Linked DNA regions of Homo sapiens: region 1 is linked to region 2. The links are contacts of gene promoters, found by promoter capture Hi-C in blood cells and fetal thymus (Javierre and others, 2016). All regions are on one chromosome and are shown on one strand. The core of a region is centred on a gene start or on the middle of the fragment in contact, and the rest is flanking DNA. Distances in the headings are between cores, read along the strand shown. Region 1 holds the start of DNAJB8 (DnaJ heat shock protein family (Hsp40) member B8). Region 2 holds the start of LINC01565 (long intergenic non-protein coding RNA 1565).

Region 1 (3,472 bases), core at 386-2,885, 110 kb before region 2:
CCATGCTGGGCATCCACCCACCTACACCTGCTGACACATGTGGCTTAGCAGAGGAGTTGAAGAGCAGAACTTCTCCACTGGATGTAGCTACAGATGAACCTGATTCTTTATCTCTGTGGCTGGATTTTTGTCACTATGTCTCGGTTAGCAGTTAGCACCTGCTGTCCCTTGCAGGCTTGTTCCTGGGGCGGGAGAAAGATGCTTGCCCTGCACAGTTCTCCATGATGGCGGTGGCAGTGGGAGAGGCACTGCTGTTGACTGTGTTGCTGGTGGGGAGAGGCACGGTGGGTGTCCATGGAGATGGATAAGGTGTCATTATATAGTAGAGGTGACCATGGGAGCAGTGTTGATGTGGAGGTAATGGTCATGGTGGGTGTGAGGGGGAGAGTAATTATGGGTGATGGTGGAGTTGATCATGATGATGGTGATGCTGGTGGTGACAGCAGCAAGGCTTGTGCTTGAGAGTAATTGATGATGGTAGTGGTGGTGGTGATGGTCATGCCAGAGGAGATGGTAACAGCGAGCCTTTGTTGTGGTTGGCAGTGATGGTGCAGGTATGATGAGGAGGTGATGGGAATGGCTCCTAGTGAGCCATTGGTGTGGTTGGCAGTGGTGACAGTAATGGTGATGATGAAGGTGAAGGTGGTGGAGGTAGCAGAGGTTGTATCTTGTTCGGCTATACCACAGTGACAGCTTCCACCTCTCAGTGGCTCACGACAAACATCTAGTTCCCCCCACTTCACTCACTGGTGCCTACAGGCAGCTGCCAGGGCCCCACCTCCCATAGCTTCTCACTGTGGGTCCCAGGCTGGAGAATCAGCTCTGACCTGCACACCCCTCTCTCATGACAGTGCCACTCAGAGACAGCAGGAACTTGGGCTGCCTCTGAAAGCTTCTGTTGGGCCATGATGTGTGGCAGTCTTGCTGCATCCCATGGTCAAGGCCAGTATCCATGGGGCAAAGAATGTTTCCTTCAGGAAGGTTCTGCAAATCTCAGGGCAATAGGAAGAGAGGCCTGAGATTCCCATGGGGAAGAGGGAGTGAGCAGTTCTCCAACATATGCCAGATGCTCAAGATGGGACTGACAGCGGGGCTGGTAACGATGGCTCTGCTGGGAGCAGTGTTGGTGCTGCTGGTGCCGGGGACACCCGTGGTGGTGATGGGATAGGAGGCAGGAATTGTGCTATTAATGGAGGATGGTGGTGAGGGTGGTTGTGGAAGAGGCAATGGTAGAGGGGGGTGCCGAGGGGTGAGAAGGACACAGTGGTGGACATGCTGGTGTGAGTGCCGATGGCGATGGTGATGGCACTGAGGTGTGGGGCTCTGTATTTTCTGTTGCTAACTTGGCATTACACCAACCTCTTCCATGGTCTCCTTGCATCCTGGAGAAATCTGAGGGATTTTCCAGAATCCCATCACCGGTATAATTCCAGACTAGAGCCTGCCAATACAAGGGATTTGGAGAGTGGAAAAGAGAGGCCGTTGCAGGCAGGTGACAATGGTGAGCTTTGCAACAGCTCGGGGCAATCTTCTGCGAAGACCCTGCTTCTGAGCCACAGGCTGAGGCATGGATGGGGAGCTTCCTGGAATACCGTGAGCTCCTCAGCAGCTCCCAGGCAAGCTCTAGAGAGCCGCTCACCTGGGAGCTGCAGGTGAGCATCTCGATTCCTTGTTCCCTGACCGCTGGTCCCAGACTGTTCAGGGTGCAGCGTGTAGTAAATGTCCTCCTCCTTGGTACACATTTGAGGGCTGTGTACTGTGAGGGTGATGGCGGCTCAGATGAAGGTGGTGGTTGTGATGGAGTTGGGTGTGAGGATAGCAGAGAGAAAGCAGATGGTGACATCAGGAAGGCATTGGAGGGGCAGTGGTGGTGGCAGTGATGATGGTGGCAGTCTAATTAGAGGCAGTGGTGGGTCTGGCTGAGGCAGACCCGGTGGTGGTGATGGTGGTGGTAGTAGAGGGGGCAATGACGGTGGTGATGGCAAAGGCGGTGTGAGTGGTTGATACTGGTGGCAGAGCTGATAAGGTGATGTCACAGATGGGATGGTGGGTGGAGATGGAGGTGGAGGAAGTGTGGTGACAGTGATGTGGTGGTGACACAATGCTGACACGGGTGGAGAGCACCGTGGTGACGGTGACAGAGATGATAGTGATAGTGGGGCTGGTGGCAGTGGTAGAGGAGATGGGGATGGGACGCTGGGGTGTTGATGGTGATGGTGACACTGCTGAGGGTGTTGGTGGCCTGACATTGTAAAGGTGAAGCCTGAAGTTTCCATGACGATGGAATCAGGACAGTGGAGGAGGGGTGGTGAAAACAATGTTAAGAGACAAAGGACCTAGTATGATGAGGCATCCAAGAATCCTGTGGCCGCCTCCCCGTCCTGGCCCTCCCTGCCTTGTTGGAGACCCTGGCTCTGGTCTGCGTTGTACTCCCAGGGGAAATTTCTTCCAGCCACTGCCCTGCTCCAACCCTTGTTCCTGGGATGGGTCTGTGGGAGTCAGCCAGGATGGAGACAGGGCTGGAGACCCCCTCACTGCCGCCCATTCAGGGCTGTCTTAGGGCACACAGAACAGACCACTCGGTAGGACTTACGGGAACAGGTGTGTCACCTGGGAGCAGGTCCCACACCTCACCATCAAGGGCATCCTGAGATGGAGGCCCCTGTGGGGAGCTCCCCATGAAGGGAGCTGTGGACCGTGGAGCCGGGCAGTGTGCAGAGGAGTTTCCCTTCTGCAAAGGGTTCAGGCTAGTCTCCTTCCACGCCAGTTTTTGGGGAGCCAGTGGGGAGCATCAGGGGCTCTGAGGCCTCCATAGGGCCTGCTGGAGGGACAGGGACACACAGGCATGAGCGCACACTTAGGCCCCACACGCTCCACCGTCAATTCTGTCAGGCCACCTCCCCTCTTCAAGCCTCTCTGTCCTCATTCACCAGTGGGTGCTTTTGGGGATTTGCCCTCTCTGGGGAGCCAGCCTAGGCTTCCTGGCCTCAGATGTCCCATGTCCCTCATCTCAGGCCCACCCTAAAGCCAACCCCGAGCCATGGCCAGGGAGAGAAGGACCTTCAGCGACCAAGCGAGGCCCAGAGAGGGCAGGGCACACCGAAGGTCACACAGCAGTACCAGGAAGGTCTCCCCCGGGCGAGCTGATGGAGCCGATTAAGCAGCCAATTGGTATTCGGAGCAGCCAGAGGCCCCTCTCTGTCTCTGTAATTAATGGAGTGGCTTTTTAAAAGGATTCTAATCACCCCCGATCCTATCTGCTTATCACTAGAGTTCCTAATTAGATGATCCTGGCAGTCACTCAGCTAATTCCCTCCAGCCCCCTGCAGGCCTGCCTGGCCTGGGCAGCCCACCCCACCCCCGGCCACCCTGGCCCGGCCAGATGGGCAGTTTGGGGCCTTCTCTCCCCTCAGGGCCCCTGGTCCTCTAACTGCATTAGCTCCAGGATGGATGGGCGACAGCGATGGATGGA
Region 2 (3,331 bases), core at 378-2,877:
AAAGACAAAATGAGGCCGGGTGCAGTGGATCACGCCTGTAATCCCAGCACTTTGGGAGGCCAAGGCGGGCGGATCATGAGGTCAGGAGATCGAGAACATCCTGGCTAACACGGTGAAACCCCATCTCTACTAAAAATACAAAAACAAAATTAGCCGGCTGTGGTGGCGGGTGCCTGTAGTCCCAGCTACTCAGGAGGCTGAGGCAGGAGAATGGCGTGAACCCGGGAGGTGGAGCTTGCAGTGAGCCGAGATCGTGCCACTGCACTCCAGCCTGGGCGACAGAGAGAGACTCTGTCTCAAAAAAAAAAAGACAAAATAATTGTCTTTTAATGACTTTAAAAGACATTGAGGTGGGTGTGGGGCTCATGCCTGTAATCCCAGCAATTTGGGACGCCGAGGTGGGAGGATCACTTGAGCCCAGGAGTTTCAGACCAGCCCAGGCAACGTAGCAAGACCCCATCTCTACAAAAATGTTTAAAACCTAACCAGGAATGGCAGTGCATGCCTGTAGTCCCAGCTACTCAGGAGGCTGAGGTGGGAGGATTGCTTTAGCCCAGGAGGTTGAGGCTGCAGTGAGCTATGATAGCACCACTGCACTCCAATCGGAGTGGCAGAGTGAGACCCCAACTCAAAATAAAATTAAAAGACAAGAGGCCAGGCGCAGTGGCTCATGCCTGTAATCCCAGCACTTTAGGAGACTGAGGTGAGCAGATCGTGAGGTCAGTAGTTCAAGACCCGCCTGGCCAACATGGTGAAACCCCATCTCTACTAAAAATACAAAAATTAGCTGGGCATGGAGGCGCATACCTGTAATCCCAGCTACTCAGGAGGCTGAGGCAGGAGAATTGCTTGAACCGGGAGGCAGAGGTTTCAGTGAGCCAAGATCATGCCACTGCATTCCAGCCTGGGTGACAGAGCAAGACTCCATCTCAAAAAAAATTAAAAGACAAAATGTGGACACACACATGGCCCCAGCAAGCAAGATTGATTACTAACTTCGTGGTGGCGTGCACATGCACACGATGTTCCACAAGCTCATCATCTATTCGAGTCGAGAGTATTCAGTTATCAGCCTCAGAAATCCAGAAGGAACCTCACATCCCAGGAGCCTCTGGCATTTCAGGGCCTTTCACTCCAAGGAGCCGCCTCCACCGGGCCTTCCCCAGCAGGATGTATATGGCCCTGTCTGTGTGCTAGGAGGAGAAGGGCAGGCCCGTGTGCTGTCTGGTGCTAGGTGTGAGACCACAGCCTTTCTGGAAAGGCTTTGTACTGTGCTGCTGGTGTGCAGACCCCGTGCGTGGTAGGGGCTTCAAGAATACGCATCAAATGAACCCGAACCCAAGGACGCTTGCTCACCTGTGTCATCTGGGGGTCTCCTTCCACAGGAAGCACATCTGGGCAGAGTGAAGGCTCCCAGGGCTCAGGTCCAGAAAGAGCTGGAGGCTCCTGAGAGCAAGGGGCCCTACTCGGCCATGAGCCCAGAACAATGCGAGCTTCACACACCGCAGGTGTGTGCGTGTGGGAGCCTCTTCCTGAAGCCTTGGGGTCAGGGGCCGGGGCCCAGCAGGCTGGGTTTATTGTCCATTGTCTCAGGCCGGGACAGGAAGCACTTTCTGTTCCCAATTGCTCGGGTGGATTAATTTACAGTGGGGAGCTCAGAGTCGCCCACGGCACCTGTTTTCCCCTCTGAGGGGCCAGCTTCCAGCTTGGAGGGTGTTTCAGGAGGGGTCTCCTCTGCAGAGACGTGGCCTCCTCCAGAGACCCTTGGCCACAGCCCCTGCCCGCTCCGTGCTGGGCCGAGGCCAAGGCCCTGGCAGCCCTGCCTGCTTGCCCGGGTCACGCTGCCCACCCACGGGGAAAGCTGAGCCCTGTGGAGTGCACACCATGCTGTCAGCAGTGAGCCATGGTGAGGCAGCCTCAGCAATGTGTCTTCTCTTTGGTTGGGAATCCGCTCTCTCTTCCAGGTTCAGGGGCAGGTGATGTATGCTTGTTTTCATTTGGTGAAGATCGTGAGTCCCATTTTACAGATAAGGACGCTGAGGCTCAGCAAGGTTGACTACACAGGTCGCGAATGAAGTGGTGGGATGCAAACCCGAGTCTGCTCCAGGTCCCAGAGCTCTCAACCTCAAATGTCTCAGGAGCCAACGAAAGCTTGTGACTGAGTGTCACCAGCTGGTGTACAAAGGGGGAGTGGCAGGAGGTGGAGGAGAACCCAGGGGTGCAGGCAGGGGGGACCCTGTGCCATCTCCAAGGGCAGCACTGCTCTACCCAGCCTGCCATGCCTTGAAGTAAGGTGGACCTTGTGTGGCCACATTTTTCCTTGTTAGTAACTCAGAAGATACATTTCTAGACACGGGGTAGGTCACAAAAGCCTGTCTGCAGGCGGCACATTGCTTTCCACCTCTGCTCTGTGCCACCATGCCAACACCAACAGTGAGCACCTGCTATATGCAGGTGCTGCCCGGGCACCTCCACAACGGGGACCCATCCTGTGTCTTCAGGCCCCCCCAGGCAGCAGGCACTGTGCTTCCTGTGGACACACAGGGGACTGAGGCTCAAAAGAGCAGGCTCCTGACCCTGGGCACCAGGCTGGTCTCGGCTTGCTCACTCCACCCCTGCATCCCTGCATCGGTTTTTCATCACCACTAATGCAGGAGGCTGAGGAAGAATTCTGGAGTCTGGTGGAGGATGGGGAAGCTGACCCTATTTCTATAGGTACCTCCCTCATTTTTGTAGGATGGCTCCAAGTCAGCCACCGAGACTGCCCCCTCTGCACTAACCATTAGCCAGCACTACCAGGATTGGCCAGCTTGCTCTGTGCCACTTGTTTTATTTATTTGTTTGCTGGAGACAGGGTCTCGCTCTGTCACCCAGGCTGGAGTGCAGAGGTGCAATCATAGCTCACTGCAGCTTCCACCTCCTGGGCTCAAGTGACCCTCCCACCTCAGCCTCCTGAGTAGCTGGGACTATAGGTGGGCGCCACCACATCCAGCTTTTTTTTTTTATTTTTTGCAGAGACAGGGTCTCGCCATGTTGCCCAGGCTAGTCTTGAACTTCTGGCCTCAAGCCATCCTCCTGCCTCAGCCCCCCAAAGTGCTGGGATTACAGATGTGAGCCACTGCACCTGGCCTATGCCACTTGTGTACTCCACCAAAATAAGCTTGATTCCCTGACTTCGGTGGCTTAAGATGGCTGAGCTCTCACCCTCTCTGCCCAGGCCCCTGCCCACCTGCCCTCTGCCCCAACAGCCACCTCTGCTAGGCTGCTTCCTCCTACTCAGGCAGGGTGGATGGTTCATTGTGTGGCCCCGGATCCAGGTTCCCCCACTGCC

Evidence for each region. Contacts are between HindIII fragments. The CHiCAGO score rates a contact against its expected background, and 5 or more counts as called.
Region 1: a contact is called between the fragment with the promoter of DNAJB8 here and the fragment with the promoter of LINC01565 in region 2, in 1 of 17 cell types (endothelial precursors). The highest score is 7.2, in endothelial precursors.

The regions. Positions count from the first base shown.
Region 1 is chr3:128,465,255-128,468,726 of GRCh38, forward strand. DNAJB8 (DnaJ heat shock protein family (Hsp40) member B8) reads right to left here and starts at 1,636. Exons shown (of 3, transcript NM_153330.6): 1 at 1,360-1,636; 2 at 22-182. All of the region lies in intron 2 of DNAJB8-AS1 (DNAJB8 antisense RNA 1), which reads left to right. The HindIII fragment of the contact is 7,883 bases long and covers 891-3,472 here.
Region 2 is chr3:128,574,459-128,577,789 of GRCh38, forward strand. LINC01565 (long intergenic non-protein coding RNA 1565) reads right to left here and starts at 1,628. Exons shown (of 3, transcript NR_125802.1): 1 at 1,357-1,628; 2 at 808-928. The HindIII fragment of the contact is 3,021 bases long and covers 1-2,149 here.